2 separate regions of the Homo sapiens genome follow, and region 2 is linked to region 1. The links are contacts of gene promoters, found by promoter capture Hi-C in human tissues and cell types (Jung and others, 2019). All regions are on one chromosome and are shown on one strand. The core of a region is centred on a gene start or on the middle of the fragment in contact, and the rest is flanking DNA. Distances in the headings are between cores, read along the strand shown.

The links. Contacts are between HindIII fragments. The study calls those that stand out against the background at their distance.
Region 2: a fragment that was not itself captured here is called in contact with the fragment with the promoter of ZNF239 in region 1 in 1 of the 25 tissues and cell types used here (dorsolateral prefrontal cortex).

Annotation. Positions count from the first base shown.
Region 1 is chr10:43,571,059-43,578,045 of GRCh38, reverse strand. It overlaps ZNF239 (zinc finger protein 239), which reads left to right and starts at 3,430. Exons shown (of 4, transcript NM_001099282.2): 1 at 3,430-3,506; 2 at 4,369-4,409. RefSeq lists a silencer at 3,648-3,707. The HindIII fragment of the contact is 7,605 bases long and covers 1-4,521 here.
Region 2 is chr10:44,866,651-44,873,877 of GRCh38, reverse strand. All of the region lies in intron 2 of TMEM72-AS1 (TMEM72 antisense RNA 1), which reads left to right. Among named protein-coding and RNA genes, the nearest start is that of TMEM72, 41 kb to the left of the region's middle. The HindIII fragment of the contact is 3,983 bases long and covers 823-4,805 here.

The DNA.
Region 1 (6,987 bases), core at 2,181-4,680:
TCCTGTCATTTGCAGCAATATGGGTGGAACTAGAGGCCATGATGTTAAGTAAATAAGCCAAGCACAAAAAGACAAATATTGCATATTCTCACTCATACGTGGGAGCTAAACAAAAAAACAAGTGGATTTCATGAAGATAGAGAGTAGATTGGTGGTAACCAGAGTTCAGAAAGAGTAGAGGTAGGGGTCTGAATAGAGGCTGGTTAAGGGGTATGTATTAGTCTTTTTTCACACTGCTATAAAAAAATGCCTGAGACTGGGTAATTTATAAAGAAAAGAGGTTTAATTGACTCACACTTCCACATGGCTGGGGAGGCCTCAGGAAACTTACAATCATGTTGGAAGAAGAAGCAGTCACCTTCTTCACAAGGTGGCAGGAGAGAGAAGAACAAAGGAGGAACTTCCAAACATATCTCACAAACCATCAGATCTTGTGAGAGCTCACTCACTGTCATGAGAACACCATGGGGGAAACTGCCCCTTGTGATCCAATCACCTCCCTCCCTCCACTTGTGGGAATTACAGGTCCCTCCCTCAACACGTGGGAATTACAATTCAAGATGAGATTTGGGTGGGGACACAGAGCCAAAACATACCAAGGTGTAATACACAGTTAGACAGAAAAAATAAGACCTGGTGTTCAATAAACCAGTAGGTTAGCTATGGTTAACATTAACCTACTGTACATTTCAAAATAGCCAGAAGAGAATCATTTGAATATTTCCGGCATACAGAAAAGACAAATACTTGGCGATAGATATCCCAATTTCCCTGCTTTGATCTTTACACATAATATTAATCAAATTATCACATGTACCCCCAAAATATGTGCATCTATTATATACCAATTTTTAAAATTAAGTTAAAAATTAAATTTTGGGTTTTGCATGTGAAAAAAGAGAGAATATGGGAGAAAAGAAATTGGAAACATCCCTTAGGGACAATTTTTTTAGGAGTTTTGCTGTAAAGCAAAGCAGAGAAATGAGGTAGTGGCTGGAGAGAAATAGGGTGCAAGGTAAGGGGTTTTATTTATTTTATGGACAATATTACAGTGTATTCATTAGTATGCTGATAATTCAGTACAGAATGAAAATCTTGAAATACAGAAGAGAGAGAAGGACCTCATTCATGAGAAAGCATTTAACATCCAGGGTGCAAAAGAATTTTCTCATATAGGAACTAGGGCCAGTGACTCAGAATGAAAAGTAGAGCATACAGTTTCTAATGCAGAGAGGAGGGCAGATGTGCCTGTGAGGCGGTATAGAAGTTCTCTTTACTCAGTAACAGAAAGCAAAGTCATCAGCACTCAGTGAGATGGGAGGAGTTGTTGGCGGCTTGAAAAGAGAGTAGAAGACCAGGCATGGTGGCTCAGCCTGTAATCCCAGCACTTTGGGAGGCTGAGGTGGGACGATCGCTTGATCCCAGGAGGTGGAGACCAGCCCGAACAACATGGTGAAACTTCATCTCTTAAAAAAAAAAATACAAAAATTAGCCTGGTGTGGTGGCGCAAGCCTATAGTCCCAGCTACTTAGGAGGCTGAGGTGGGAGGGTTGCTTGTGCCCAGGAAGCAGAGATTGCAGTCAGCCAAGATCGCACTACTGAACTCCAGCCTGGCTCAAAAAAATAAATAAATAAATAATGAAAAGAGAGTAGAACCTGTGAAATAGTCATTTAGGAGAATGGATGGACTAAGAAATGTAGAAGGATAGCCAGGCAGCGTGAAGGGCCCACTTGAACTTAATGGTTATAAACTGAAAATGAAACCAATCATCCCAGCCATGTGGTTTTCTCAAACAACCTCTGCCGTACAGGCGCAGGCCAGGAACTGGATTCAAGCAGATTTGGGTTTCCATCAAGAGAATAAAACCAAGAAAGACTGGGACAAGAGAGTTAAGGGTAACGGCACATACACAGGACTGGCCATAACCATGCTCCATGGCCTCTTAAATTGAGTGAGGAGAGAAGTGAGCACATGAGGAAGTGAAGGTCAGGGCAAGGGTGGTAAATCTAAATAGGGAAAAGCTCTGTGGTTTTCCAATGAAGAATGAGGAGAGGAGTAAGGTCCAAGGGAGACATTTTGTGTTCCCCAGGCAAAAGGTAAGACAGCATCTCTGAGGAGGAGACCGAAGGGGACGTGGGCCTCTCCAAGCATCGCAGGCTGAAAATAATAGTCCCCCAAATATGTCCATGTCCTAACCCCCAGAAGCTGTGGATGTTAATTTCTATGGCAAGAGGGATTTTTTTTGAAATGTGATTAAATTAAGGATCTTGACGTCAAGAGATTATCCCAGATTAGCCAGCTGGGCCTGATGTAATCACAACAGTCGTTATTAGAAGGACCCACGAGGAGCCAGTGCCTGAGCATGTGATGTGATGATGAAGGCAGAGGTTGCAGTCATGCACTTTGAAGATAAAGGAGCGAGCCATAAGCCAAGGAATGCAAATAGTCACTGGGAACTGGAAAAGGCAAAGAAATATTCTCATCTAGAACCTCCAGGAGGAACTAGCCCCACCAACACTGACTTTATAAAGCCCAGTAAAACTTGATTTCAGACTTGGCACCTCCAGAAGTTTAAGAGAATACATGTTTGTTATACTACTAAGTTTGTGTTAATTTGTTGTGACAGCAATTGGAAACTAATACACCAAGGAAGGGGGAGGATGTAGAAGAGAGGTCCAGGCAACATCTCTTTCCTCTCCAAAATAAATCTGAAAGAAAGGAATTGGGAAAAGACCAAATGGGTAGCTCTGTGTCACTCGGTGAGAAGTGAAATAAACGTAAAATCCTGGTATCAACAACCCTTGTGTGCGTTTAGGAGAGTTCTGACTGCTGGGAGCCACTTGTCTAATTCCCTCACCTCCTGTGTTTGTTCCAAGATCCCCTATTTAAAATTGCAAAGTACACCTCCAGTCCTACACACCCACAAACGCACCTCGCCACACCCCGCCCAGCTCTATGCTTTCAGTACCACCTCATGACACACACGACGCCATATATTTACTATATTTATGGATTGCTTGTTTCCCCAACTAGAATAGGGCAGTGACTTTTGTGCAAGCATCTTGAACAGCTCCTGGTACACAGTTGGCTCTCAATTAATATCTGTTAAATGGATGAACTTCAGAGGTGAGATGGAAGATGCCGAATGGCAAATATTCACTTCAGAATGTTTTGAAAGGTAAAGATGAAATTATGGGTATTTACATCCTTTTCCCCCAATAGTATTTTAACAAATGAAAATCACCTTAACAGGTATTCCTAAAATAATTCTTATTTGTTTGTAATAAAAAACGAGGAGGAGGACTTGAATACACGCGTCGCTGACTCAAAGATGGTCCCCTCCGCCCAAGAATCCCGCTCCGCACAGCGCAGAGTTCAGGGGCCCGCGCCGGAAGTGGGCGTGGTTCGCCCGCGGCTTGCTGGGACTTGTATTTCGGGGCCCTAGGCGCGCGAGCGGTCAGCATCCGGAATCTGGCCCCTGCAGGCGTGGGGTTCCACGTGGGAGGTGAGACTGGCCGGGCTTCCCCAGCCGCTGGCAGAGGCGTTCAGGGGTCAGGAAATGGGTGTGCCGCGGGTAAGGCGCTGGGCCGCCGAGCTGCGGAAGCCGGGAGGGCGGCGATGGTAGGGCACGCGACCAGCGGAGGCGCGGCCCGCGGCGGCACGTGTGTCCCGGCGCCGCATTTCCGAGCTGCTGCGCCCCCGGGGCCGGGCTGCGGCCACACCGAAGCCTGTGGGGCCCTGCAGCTGAGCGGCCGCGCCTCCGATGGCCCCTCCTCCCTCCTGGCCGAGCTCTGGCCTGGGCCGGCTGGGGGCTTCGTGGTTGGCCACGCCGGCCTTTTCCTCGCCTGTGACGGGCGTTATTGCAGGGGGGTTTTCGGTGGACGTTAGGCGACGGACGGGGGCTCCTGTAAGAGACTGAGGTTTCTGTCCGCAGCACTGCCTTCGCTGAAAAGAGCTTGCATCTGAGCCCCCGCACCGCAGGAACGAGCCAGGCTCCTGAGAATGAGGTCGGGGAAGGCGTCTTGGGCAACCGAAATCCATCCCGAGAAGCTTCTCCTCTTAACTAGAACTTTAGGACAGAGATCGGGAAAGTCAGAGGAAATGGGCACGGCTTCGAGCTGCCGGCGGCTGCGGAATTTACCTAGCCTCTTGGTTTTGGGGGGAAAACTTGGCTTGTTTAATCGAAAGCCCTGTGGAGAGAGATGAAGGTGGTGACAGAAAATGCTTCACCTCTCACCTGATGGAGGGAGTGTGGGTGGAAGTGACTGAAGAAGCGTCAGAGGCAGGAGCGGAGTAACTTTTTCCCCGCAGTCTTGCTGGACTTGATTTTCATGGCTTTTTCTCTTTCCCTAACTCTGCCTTTCCAGGAATCCATCCCCTCTGGGAGTAAGAAATGACCAGGGTCCGGGTGAGTTGGCGTTCCATTTCTCCTAAAATGCCATCTCCCTGAAATGTCCCTGTGCCATGTGTTGTTTTCTTTATTGTCAGGCCCCCAGTACGGTATTTTATAGCTATGGATGTAGGGACATTAAGATACTAAGGACATGTAGCTAGCAGATGATGTCACCAGGGTCTGCACAGAGAGTTTTCACTGGCCCATCCTGCCTCCAAGAATTTATTCCACTCCTCAGAGCAGTGGGCTGTGCCCTCCTGGGGAGCCTCTCAAAGCCTGCCTTTTCCTGCCAGACATTTCACTCACATTGAAAGTCATTCCAAGCTATTCCATACTCATCCCAGTGCTAAGTGGTCTCAGCAAAACAGATAGAATGATAAACCACGGTGCTTTTCTTCAAGGAGCTTACCATCTTGATGAACATATTATATTACCTGTACACAAAAAAATGCATATTAATAGTGATAATTTATTAACTATGAGTCAAAAACGAGGAAATTCGTTAAATGGCAGCACAGTGGTTACAAAATCACTCTAGAAATGCTTTTCAACTAGGCTATGCATCAGAACTCTCTGTGGTGTTTTTTAAGAACTAAGCTTCCTTCTCTCTTCCAGACCTAGTGAAAGGAGAGTTTCACTCCTTTTTTATTCTGTTGATCTTTGTACATCCAAAGGTTTATTGTGAAATATCTCTCTATACACTATAAGTGTCTCTAGGGTAGGTAAAATGAGTTATTCATCCTTTATACTCAGGTTGATTTGTTCTCTTTCACTAGCATGTCTACATATTTAACTGTTCCAGTAAATTTTAAATTACCAAGTCGTACTTTTTTAAAGAGAGTTTTCAGTTGTCCCCATAAAACCATCTGTAGGAGGTTACCTCAAAATTAACCCTTAGACTCCCAGGGTATTTGAGATGGTCAGCCCCCACTTAGAATCCCATGGTGTTTGAGATGGTCGGCCCCCTCTTTGCCCTGTCCTGGCGTTTTATGGTGGAGAGCTCTAACTCGGCTAACTCTGAGAGAGCCGAAGGAAAGTGCCTTGTCCTTTGTTTCAGAGAGCAGAAGGCCAGAAATAAACCCCGTGTTTTCTTCCTTCAGGCTGTTCTTTCTCCATTAACTAAACAGGTCATCACATCAGAAGTTGTTTGAATAAAATATCAGACTGCGTTTTAAGGGAAAAAAAATGTTTTTTAACACTACCAGCAAAGGCCATCTTTTTGCTTGGCAAATACAGCCCTCACACACATGAGCTCTTAGAAAAAATCTGTTTAGAGGACAGTAAGCTGACTTGAGGTACTGAGAGCATGGCTTCTCTGTGCCCTGAAAAGTAATTGAGGACTTCAAGGGAGATTAACCTTAGTAGAATCAATACATTTTCCTTCCTTCGCTTCTGCCTGCTCCCTAATGATTAAGTATTCACTGCCGCTGCAACTGGGGATTGCCAGTTTAGTAAATTTTGAGATTCTGGTGTGTGTTACACAACAACTTTTTTAATTTAAAGGAAGGACTTCATTCCAAGCATTGTGTGTTTTCTATGTACCACACATTGTCCTTAGGTCTGCTGAAAGGCGGGAGTCTTAGTTAACCCTGCTTTTCCTCTGTGACATTGGGTAAGTCACTTCGCCCTTATGAACTGTGGTTTTTTTCTCTGTAAACTGAGGGTCTTGGGCTTGACCATCTTTATGTTTTCTTTTAGTTGTATTATTATTCATTTAAATTGAATGTGAATTTATATTTATCTTTCAGATTCCAAGTCAATTGTGGTAGTTGCTGGGGATTTAAAGATGAGTTGAGGCCAGACATGGTGGCTCACACCTGTAATCCCAGTACTTTGGGAGACTGAGTGGGGAGGATCACCTGAGGTCAGGAGTTGAGACCAGCCTGGCCAACATAGTGAAACCTCATCTCTACTAAAAATACAAAAATTAGCTGGTCATGTTGATGCCTGTTGTAATCCCAGCTACTCGGGAGGCTGAGGCAGGAGAATCTCTTGAACCCGGGAGGTGGAGGTTGTAGTGAGCTGAGATCATGCCACTGCACTCCAGCCTGGGCAACAGAGTGAGACTCTGTTTCAAACAACAAAGATGAGTTGAGTGTAGCCCCTATCCTTCAGAATCTTCCAGCCAACTTGGGAGAGACTTAATAGCTATAGTAGAGGGATGTGAAAGATGCTATGAGATCTCAGAGGAGGAGAATTCTAACTCATCCTCATGCTTCAGAAAGAGGCTATTGTCCTGAGACTGAAAGCTCCAAAATGGATGGGAGAACTCAATAAGTTAGGGCTTACTATAGAAAGGACTGTGCTAGACTCAAGTGTAATGTGTTGAATGACTCCAGGTAATCTAGTGTGCCTCTTCCTGCTTTTCCACTTCAAAGTAAATTGTTAGATACAGCAGAGATGGGCTCTAGAAAGAAGTGGAAGGCCACATGATGGCATGTATGTAGTTCTGAGGAGGTCGACATTTGTCTGATAGAAACAGGAAACAATTGAACTTGTGACCTTCCTCTTTGGTTGGCCTTTAGAATATCAAGTCTGCTCTCCCAACTGTAAGCAGGAGCACAGCCTTGGAGTGACTCCTTAGTGCCACTGA
Region 2 (7,227 bases), core at 1,565-4,064, 1.3 Mb before region 1:
TGAGTCAAGATATGTGAACCCTGGGTAGAAGAATTATCAGGTCTGGAGGGAGCACAAGCAAACTATCCCATTTTATGGACGTGGAAACCGAGGCCTGAGGGAGAGACGCACCAGGAATCAGGAGATCTGGCTCTGATCAGCTGTACAAATTGAGAATTGTGACCTGACCTTGTCCAACCCAAGTGGCCCAACTCCTAATTCTGTGAGTGACATGTCTCTGTTACTTTGGAATATTGATTGAAGGTATGTGATTACAACTTTTTATTATAATATTCTGAGACAATTTTTTATTATAATCTTATGAGAAGCTAAGGACTGGGTGGATATTTTCCTGGGTTAAAAGTAAAGTTTTTCTTGTTGAAAACTTAGACATTCAGAAAATTTTCAAATTGTTTTTATTATATAGAAACTGTAGATTAGAAACATATTGTATGATGATTGTTCATGATGCTTCAGCGTAATCACTTCAGCAATGTAGCAATGACGCCATTCAGGGGCGTTTTCAAAGTGTGGCCTTGGGCCAGCACCATCGGCATCTCAGGAAACTCTCACAGGGACAGCCCTGCTCTACTGGATCAGAAGCTCTGGGGCTGGGACCCAGCAATCCATGCTTTAACAAGCCCGTCAGGGGCTTCCTATTCATGCTGAAGTCTGAGACCCACTGTTACGGAATATTGTCTTCCTGATCTTGATAGTGTGATGGTAAATTTTATGTGTCAATGTGGCTAGGATATGCTGCCCAGTTGATTGGTCAAACACTAGTCTAGAAGTTGCTGTGAAGGTATTTTTTAAACATTTAAATCAGTAGACTTTGAGAGAAGCAGATTACCCTTCATCATTTGGGTAGGCCTCATCTAATCAGCTGAAGGCATTAAGAGAAATGACCGAGGTCCCATGGGGAGGAAGGAATTCTGCCTCCAGACTGTCCTGGAACTCAAGACTGCAACATCAACTCCTGCCAGCTTTTCCAGCCTGCCAGCTTACTTTGAAAATTGCCAGCCCCCATGATTGTGTGAGCCAATTCCTAATCTCTTCTCATATATATATATATATATATATATATATATATATATATATATATATATGTATGTATACATATACCGTATGGCTCTGTTTTTCTGGAGAACTCTGATAAATACAAACAGCATTAGAATCCAATCTCAGCAATTTCTCATTTAGCCCAAGCTCAGCTGCACAATCCTTCTCAGTGCAAGACTCCAGACAACTGCTTTCAATAGGCAGGAGCCAGCATAGGCATGCCACTTAATAGCTGTCCAGGACTTAAGATGGTAACTGGGGGCCGAAAAATTTGTAGGTATACCTGATTTGGCAGAAACCATTTGATTTTAGGCTATTCTTTAGAAAATTCTTTATTGAAAAATATCTAGATTTCAGTGGGAAGTTAAAAAATGGATGGATCCGAATTTGAATCCCTGCTCTAACTTACTCTCTAAGTGGCCTCAGGCAAGTCACTTAACCCATGTGATCAATATTTTCTTCATCAATGAAGCAAGCCGGGAGTGGTAGCTCATGCCTGCAACCCCAATGCTTTGGGAGGTTGAGGTGGAAAGATGGCTTGAGGCCAGGAGTTCAAGACCAGCCTGGGCAAGATGGTGAAACCCCTATCTCTACAAAAAATACAAAAAAATGTTGGGCATGGTGGCATACACCTGTGGTCCCAGCTACCCAGGAGGCTGAGGTGGGAGGATCGCTTTAGCCCAGGAGGTTGAGGCTGCAGGGAGCTATGATTGCACCACTGCACTCCAGCCTGGGCAACAGAATGAGACCCTGTCTTTAAAAGAAAAAGAAATGAACCAAAGGTACTAAGGCTTTCCTTCTGTGGTTTTAATAAAGCTTCTAGGTAGCACATCTCAGGTGCCAATTTATGTCAGGCTTATTGTAGGCGCTCGGTGAATAATAGTTATTATGGTTTCAGCTTGCCATTCCCCAAACTGGAGGTATGCCAGAAAGATATTACTGTTAACTGGGAGTCCTAGGTAACTGTTCTCTCTGGTGAATCTGTGATTTACTGTAACACAGTAGAGATAACATGTTTAATTGTAATCAATATAGCAACATTATTATTTGAGCAATGCAGTAGGCACTGACTGGGGAGGGATGCATCCCAAGAATGTGGGAGCCATAGCAGCAGCCCTTGGTGATGAGCAGTACTAAGGCTATGATGAAGGCTGTCAAGGATGCACCCACATTTCATCATAGAAAGAAGCCAGGCAAGCCATGGGCTCTGGGAATTTCTATTAAAACAATATAGACTTTTAAGGGGGGATGTGGGGTACACAATCTATTGGAAATGTTATTTGTCCTACATAATTCTAGGGACATGAATGATGTAGGGAAACAATGTTATCAAACAACACGATTTTCTGTTTCAACTGAGAGGAAGAGTGGCCTATTCAAGTAAGCCCAGATTAATGTGTGAACATAGCTAAAAGGATCAGCATTTTCCTGTTACTTGAACACTCACAGTGCATTCAATTATATTTTAATGAACTTGAAAAACTGAATTCAATAGAAACAGTTTTGGAAGACTAAGAGGCAAAGCTTAATGATGAAGATATTAGAAAAGTTATACAAACTAATAACTACTAAGAAAAGTAAGGTGGTATTCAAAGATTTCCCCTCCTCAAATCCCCAAGCCCGGATGGGTTATAGATGAATCTTACTAAATTTTCAGGAACAGTTAATTGCTAATCTTTATAAGTGGTTCCGTAAGATGGGAAGAGAAAGTTGTGTAGCTCATTTTATGAGTCTAATGTAATTCATAACTCAAGTATCAGATAAGAACAATAAATACAAAGAGAAGAAGACTTCAATTGATTAGTATATCAACATTGAAGGAAAAACTAAATCTTGGCTAAGTGAATCAAATCTTTTGTTAAGAATATATTATAATTAAGTAGGATGCCACCTAGGAATACAAGAGTGACTCATCATTGGAAAAATTGTCATAAAATCTTTTGTTAAAAATATTGCCATATTAAAAGACTACTGAAGAAAAATTACATGGCAATTAAAATTAATACAGAAATAGTACTTTATGAAATTCAACAACTTTTATGATTAAAAAAGCATAGAAAACTAGGAACAGGAGGAAATTTCCCTAACTTGGCAAAAGTTATATTCAAAAAAACCTACCACAAACCTAATATTTAATGGAGAAACATAAGACCCATTTCCTTTGAAATTACAAACAAAATAAGGATGTCCAATGCTATGGTCTGAATGTCTGAGGCCTCCCCAAATTCATATATTGAAAATTTCAAGATAATGGTATTAAAAGGTGCGGCCTTTGGAAGATGATTAGGTCATGGGGGCAGAATCCTCAGGAATGGGGTTAGGGCCTGAGACCCCCTCATCCCTTCTACTGTATGAGGACACAGTGAGACTGTGTGCAGAAAGCATGCCCTCACTAGACACCAAATATTTTAGTGTCTTGATGTTGGAATTCCCAGCCTCCAGAACTGTGAACAATAAATTTCTGTTGTTTATAAGCCACCCAATTTAGGGTATTTTTTATAGCAGCCCAAATGGACTAAGACATCCATTCTAACTGTTTCCGTTTGGCACAGTGTTTGAGGTTCTGGCCAATGTTGTAAAAAGAGGAAAAAAAAAAAGCTGGAAGAGTTGGTGTGTGAGAGAGATTCTAGCTGCTCTATTGAGGGCCAGTGACGGGCAGGGGTGAAGGCGGCGGGGATCGGACCAGACACTAAATCACTCCGGCTTGAGCTGGGTCTGTAGCTATATAGGTGGTGAGAAGTGGTTGGATTTTGGGTAAATTTTGAAGATGTGCTTGACAAATTTGTCAAAGGATTTGAAAGTGGGGAACGAGAAAAAGAGAGGGGCCAAGGGTAATTCTGTGTTTTTTTGGTTTTGTTGTGTGTGTGCTATTTTTAACTCGAGCAGTGGGAATTACTAAGATGGGGAGACAGTGGGAAGCATAGTTTGTGGGAATTTTGAAAATGCCAAGTTTGAGATCTCTACTAGATATTTAAGCAACGATGCCAAGAGGTAGAGAGGACTCTAGGGTTCAGGGAGGAGGTCTGAGCTACAGGGAGACATTTGAGGGTGGTCAGTGTAGAGATGAGATTCAGAGCTATGAAATCCAGTGAGCTCACCAAAGGAGGCGAGTTAGAGAAAAGAAGACTGAGTTTTAGGGCGCTGCCAGTTGAGAGGTTGGGGCAATGTTGGGGGAAGGAGAAAGACCATCCAGGAAAGTATGAGGAAAACTACAGGCACACGGTGTCCCAAAGGACAGGTGGAGAAAGCTTCTGTAGAGAAAACGCTCAGTGATATTTTCTGAGAGTCTGAACACGTGACAAAAGGGAGTGAATCCTTTTCTCCTTCCCTTCCTCCCTTTCTACCTCCTTCCTTCCTTCCACAAGGGTGTAAATTCCTCTGTCCCTCCCTTTCCTTCCTCCCTGCCTCTCCGTCTCCCCTCCCTCCCTCCCTTCCTCCCTCCCTCCCTCCCTCCCTTCCTTCCTTCCTTCTTTCCCTCCTTCCTTCCTGTCTTCCTTCTTTATGAATGTTTACAGCTTTGTTTAGGTATAAACAACACAGAATAAATTGCACATGTTTAAAGTGCACGATCTAAGTTCCGACATATGTCTACATCTATGAAATCACCACCACAATCACTATAGTGGCCCTATCCGTCACCCCACACATTGCCTCCTGTCCCTTCTAGTCCTCCATTCTGCCCTCCCCATTGCGTCTCTGCACATGGGGAGCCTCTCCACAAAATATCTGCTTTCCATCAGTATAGCTTAGTCTGCTCGAATTTTATATAAATAGCATCTAACAAAAACCCTTTTTTTTGTCTGGCTGCTTTCAGTCAGCATAATGATTATGACTTTTTTCCATGTTGCTTGTATCGATGGTTCATTCCTCTTTACTGCTGAGTAGCATTCCACTGAATGAATCACCACATTAGCTTATCACAAATAGTTCCTCCTATATATGCTTATAGAAGATTCATTGTTTTGTTTTGAGTGAATTTTGGTAGGTGCTGCAAAATATGAATTTAATTCATTTTGATTCATATGGATATCAAATTGTTTCCATTTGATAGACTGGAATAGACTATCTTTCCCACGTTGGATTACCTTTGCACCTTTGTCAAATCTCAGTTGCTCTTATGTGTCTGGGCCATGTGTAGCTTTTCTTATTTAGGGACATTTGTCTTTCAGAATAACTTTGTCAGTTTCTACAAACCCCCCTACTCCCTGCTTTGGGGGCTTATATGGGGACTGATCATTTCTTTTTACTGCTGAGTGGCATTTCATTGAATGAATCGCCTCAGTAAGCTTCTCACAAATAGTTCTCTCTATATTTTCTTCTAGAAGTTTCATTTTTTTTTTTTTTTTGCATTTTGGGGGCAAAGTGACATATTAGTGGTATTAGATATTCAAGTGGAGATGCCAGGAGGTAGAGAGGAATCTAGGGTACAGGGAGGGGGTCTTTTGATCTTTATATCAATTTGAGGGCAAATTGACATCTTAGTGGTATTATATTTTCTGATCCATGAATGCAACGTATCTTCCATTTTTTGAGCTCTTTAAAATTTTTTTCTGAGCAATGTTTTATGGTTTTTAGTGTACAGTTCATTCATATCATTTGTTAAATGTATCTCTAAGTATTTCATATTTTTGATGCTATTTTAAATGATACTAGATTTAAATTTTAATTTCTGATTGTCATTGCTAGTGAAAATATAAAACAATTGGTTTTTGTATATTGATCCTCTATCCTGCAACCTTATTAAACTCACTTGTTAATTCTAATATCTTTTTGTGTAGGCCACGTTGAATTTTCAATATAGAAAATCCTGTTATCTATGAATAAAGACAGTTTTACTTCTCCCTTCTAATCTCAATGCCTTTTATTTCTTTCTCTTGCTGTATTGTATTTGCTAGAAAATGTTGAAAAATGTTGAAAAGAAGTTGTAAGAGTACATAGTTTTGTCTTGTTCTTCATCTTAGGGGAAAAGCATTAAGTCTTTTAGTATTAATGGTAATGTGGACAGAAGGTTTTGTAGAGGCCGTGTACCAGGTTGAGGAAGCTCCTTCTACTCCTAGTTTGTTGAGAGAGTTTATGTCCAGAATGCATGTTAGATTTTTGAAAATGCTTTTACTATGTCTATTGTGACACTTCTGTGGTTTCTCTTTTTTAATTTCAAAATATGCTGAATCACATTAATTGATTTTCAAATTATAAATCAACCTTGCATTTCTGGCATGTAACTCATTTGGTTATGATCTTTCATACTGTTGGATTTGATTTCATTTGCCGAAATTTTGTTTAAAGTGTATTTTGGTATAAAGTGTATATATAGACCCAGGTGCGGTGGCTCACACCTGTAGTCCTAGCACTTTGGGAGGCCAAGGTGGGCAGATCACTTGAGGTCAGGAGTTTGAGACCAGCCTGGCAACGTGGTGAAATCCTGTCTCTACTAAAAATACAAAAATTAGCTGGGTGTGGTGGCGTGCCTGTAATCCCAGCTACTCAGGAGGCTGAGGCAAGTGAATCGCTTGAACCTGGGAGGCAGAGGTTGCAGTGAGCCGAGATCATGCCACTGCATTCCAGCCTGGGGGACAAGAGCAAAACTCCGTCTCAAATAAAACAAAATAAAATAATATATATATATGTGTGTATATACACACACACACAAAATTTGCATTCATATTCATAGAGATAATAGTCTATAGTTTTCGTTCTTTGTAATGTCTTTGGTCATGGTACCAGAGTAAAACAATTTGAGAAGTGTTCTGTCTTTTACAATTTTCCAGGAGTGTGTATGGAATTGATGTTCATTCTTCCTAAGTTGGATAATAAAGTTATCTGGGCCTGGAGGTTTCTGTGTGGGAAGGTTTTAAAGTACAAGTTTAATGTAAAAAATAGACATAAGACTAATTCAGATTATCTGTTTACTCTTAAGTGCCGATAGTGTCTTTCAAGGAATTTGTCTATTATATTTAATTTGTCATATATATTGGTCTTAAGTTTATCATAATATGCTCTTAATTTTCTTTTTAACATCTGTAGAATCTATAGTGATAGATATCACAATTCCCATTTCTGATTTTAGTAATTTGAGTCTTTTCTCTTTTTTGGGGGGATCAACCTGACCAGGAGTTTATCAATTTTATTGATCTTCTAAAAACAAACAAAAAACTCCAGCTTTTAATTTCATTGATTTGTCCCTTTTGT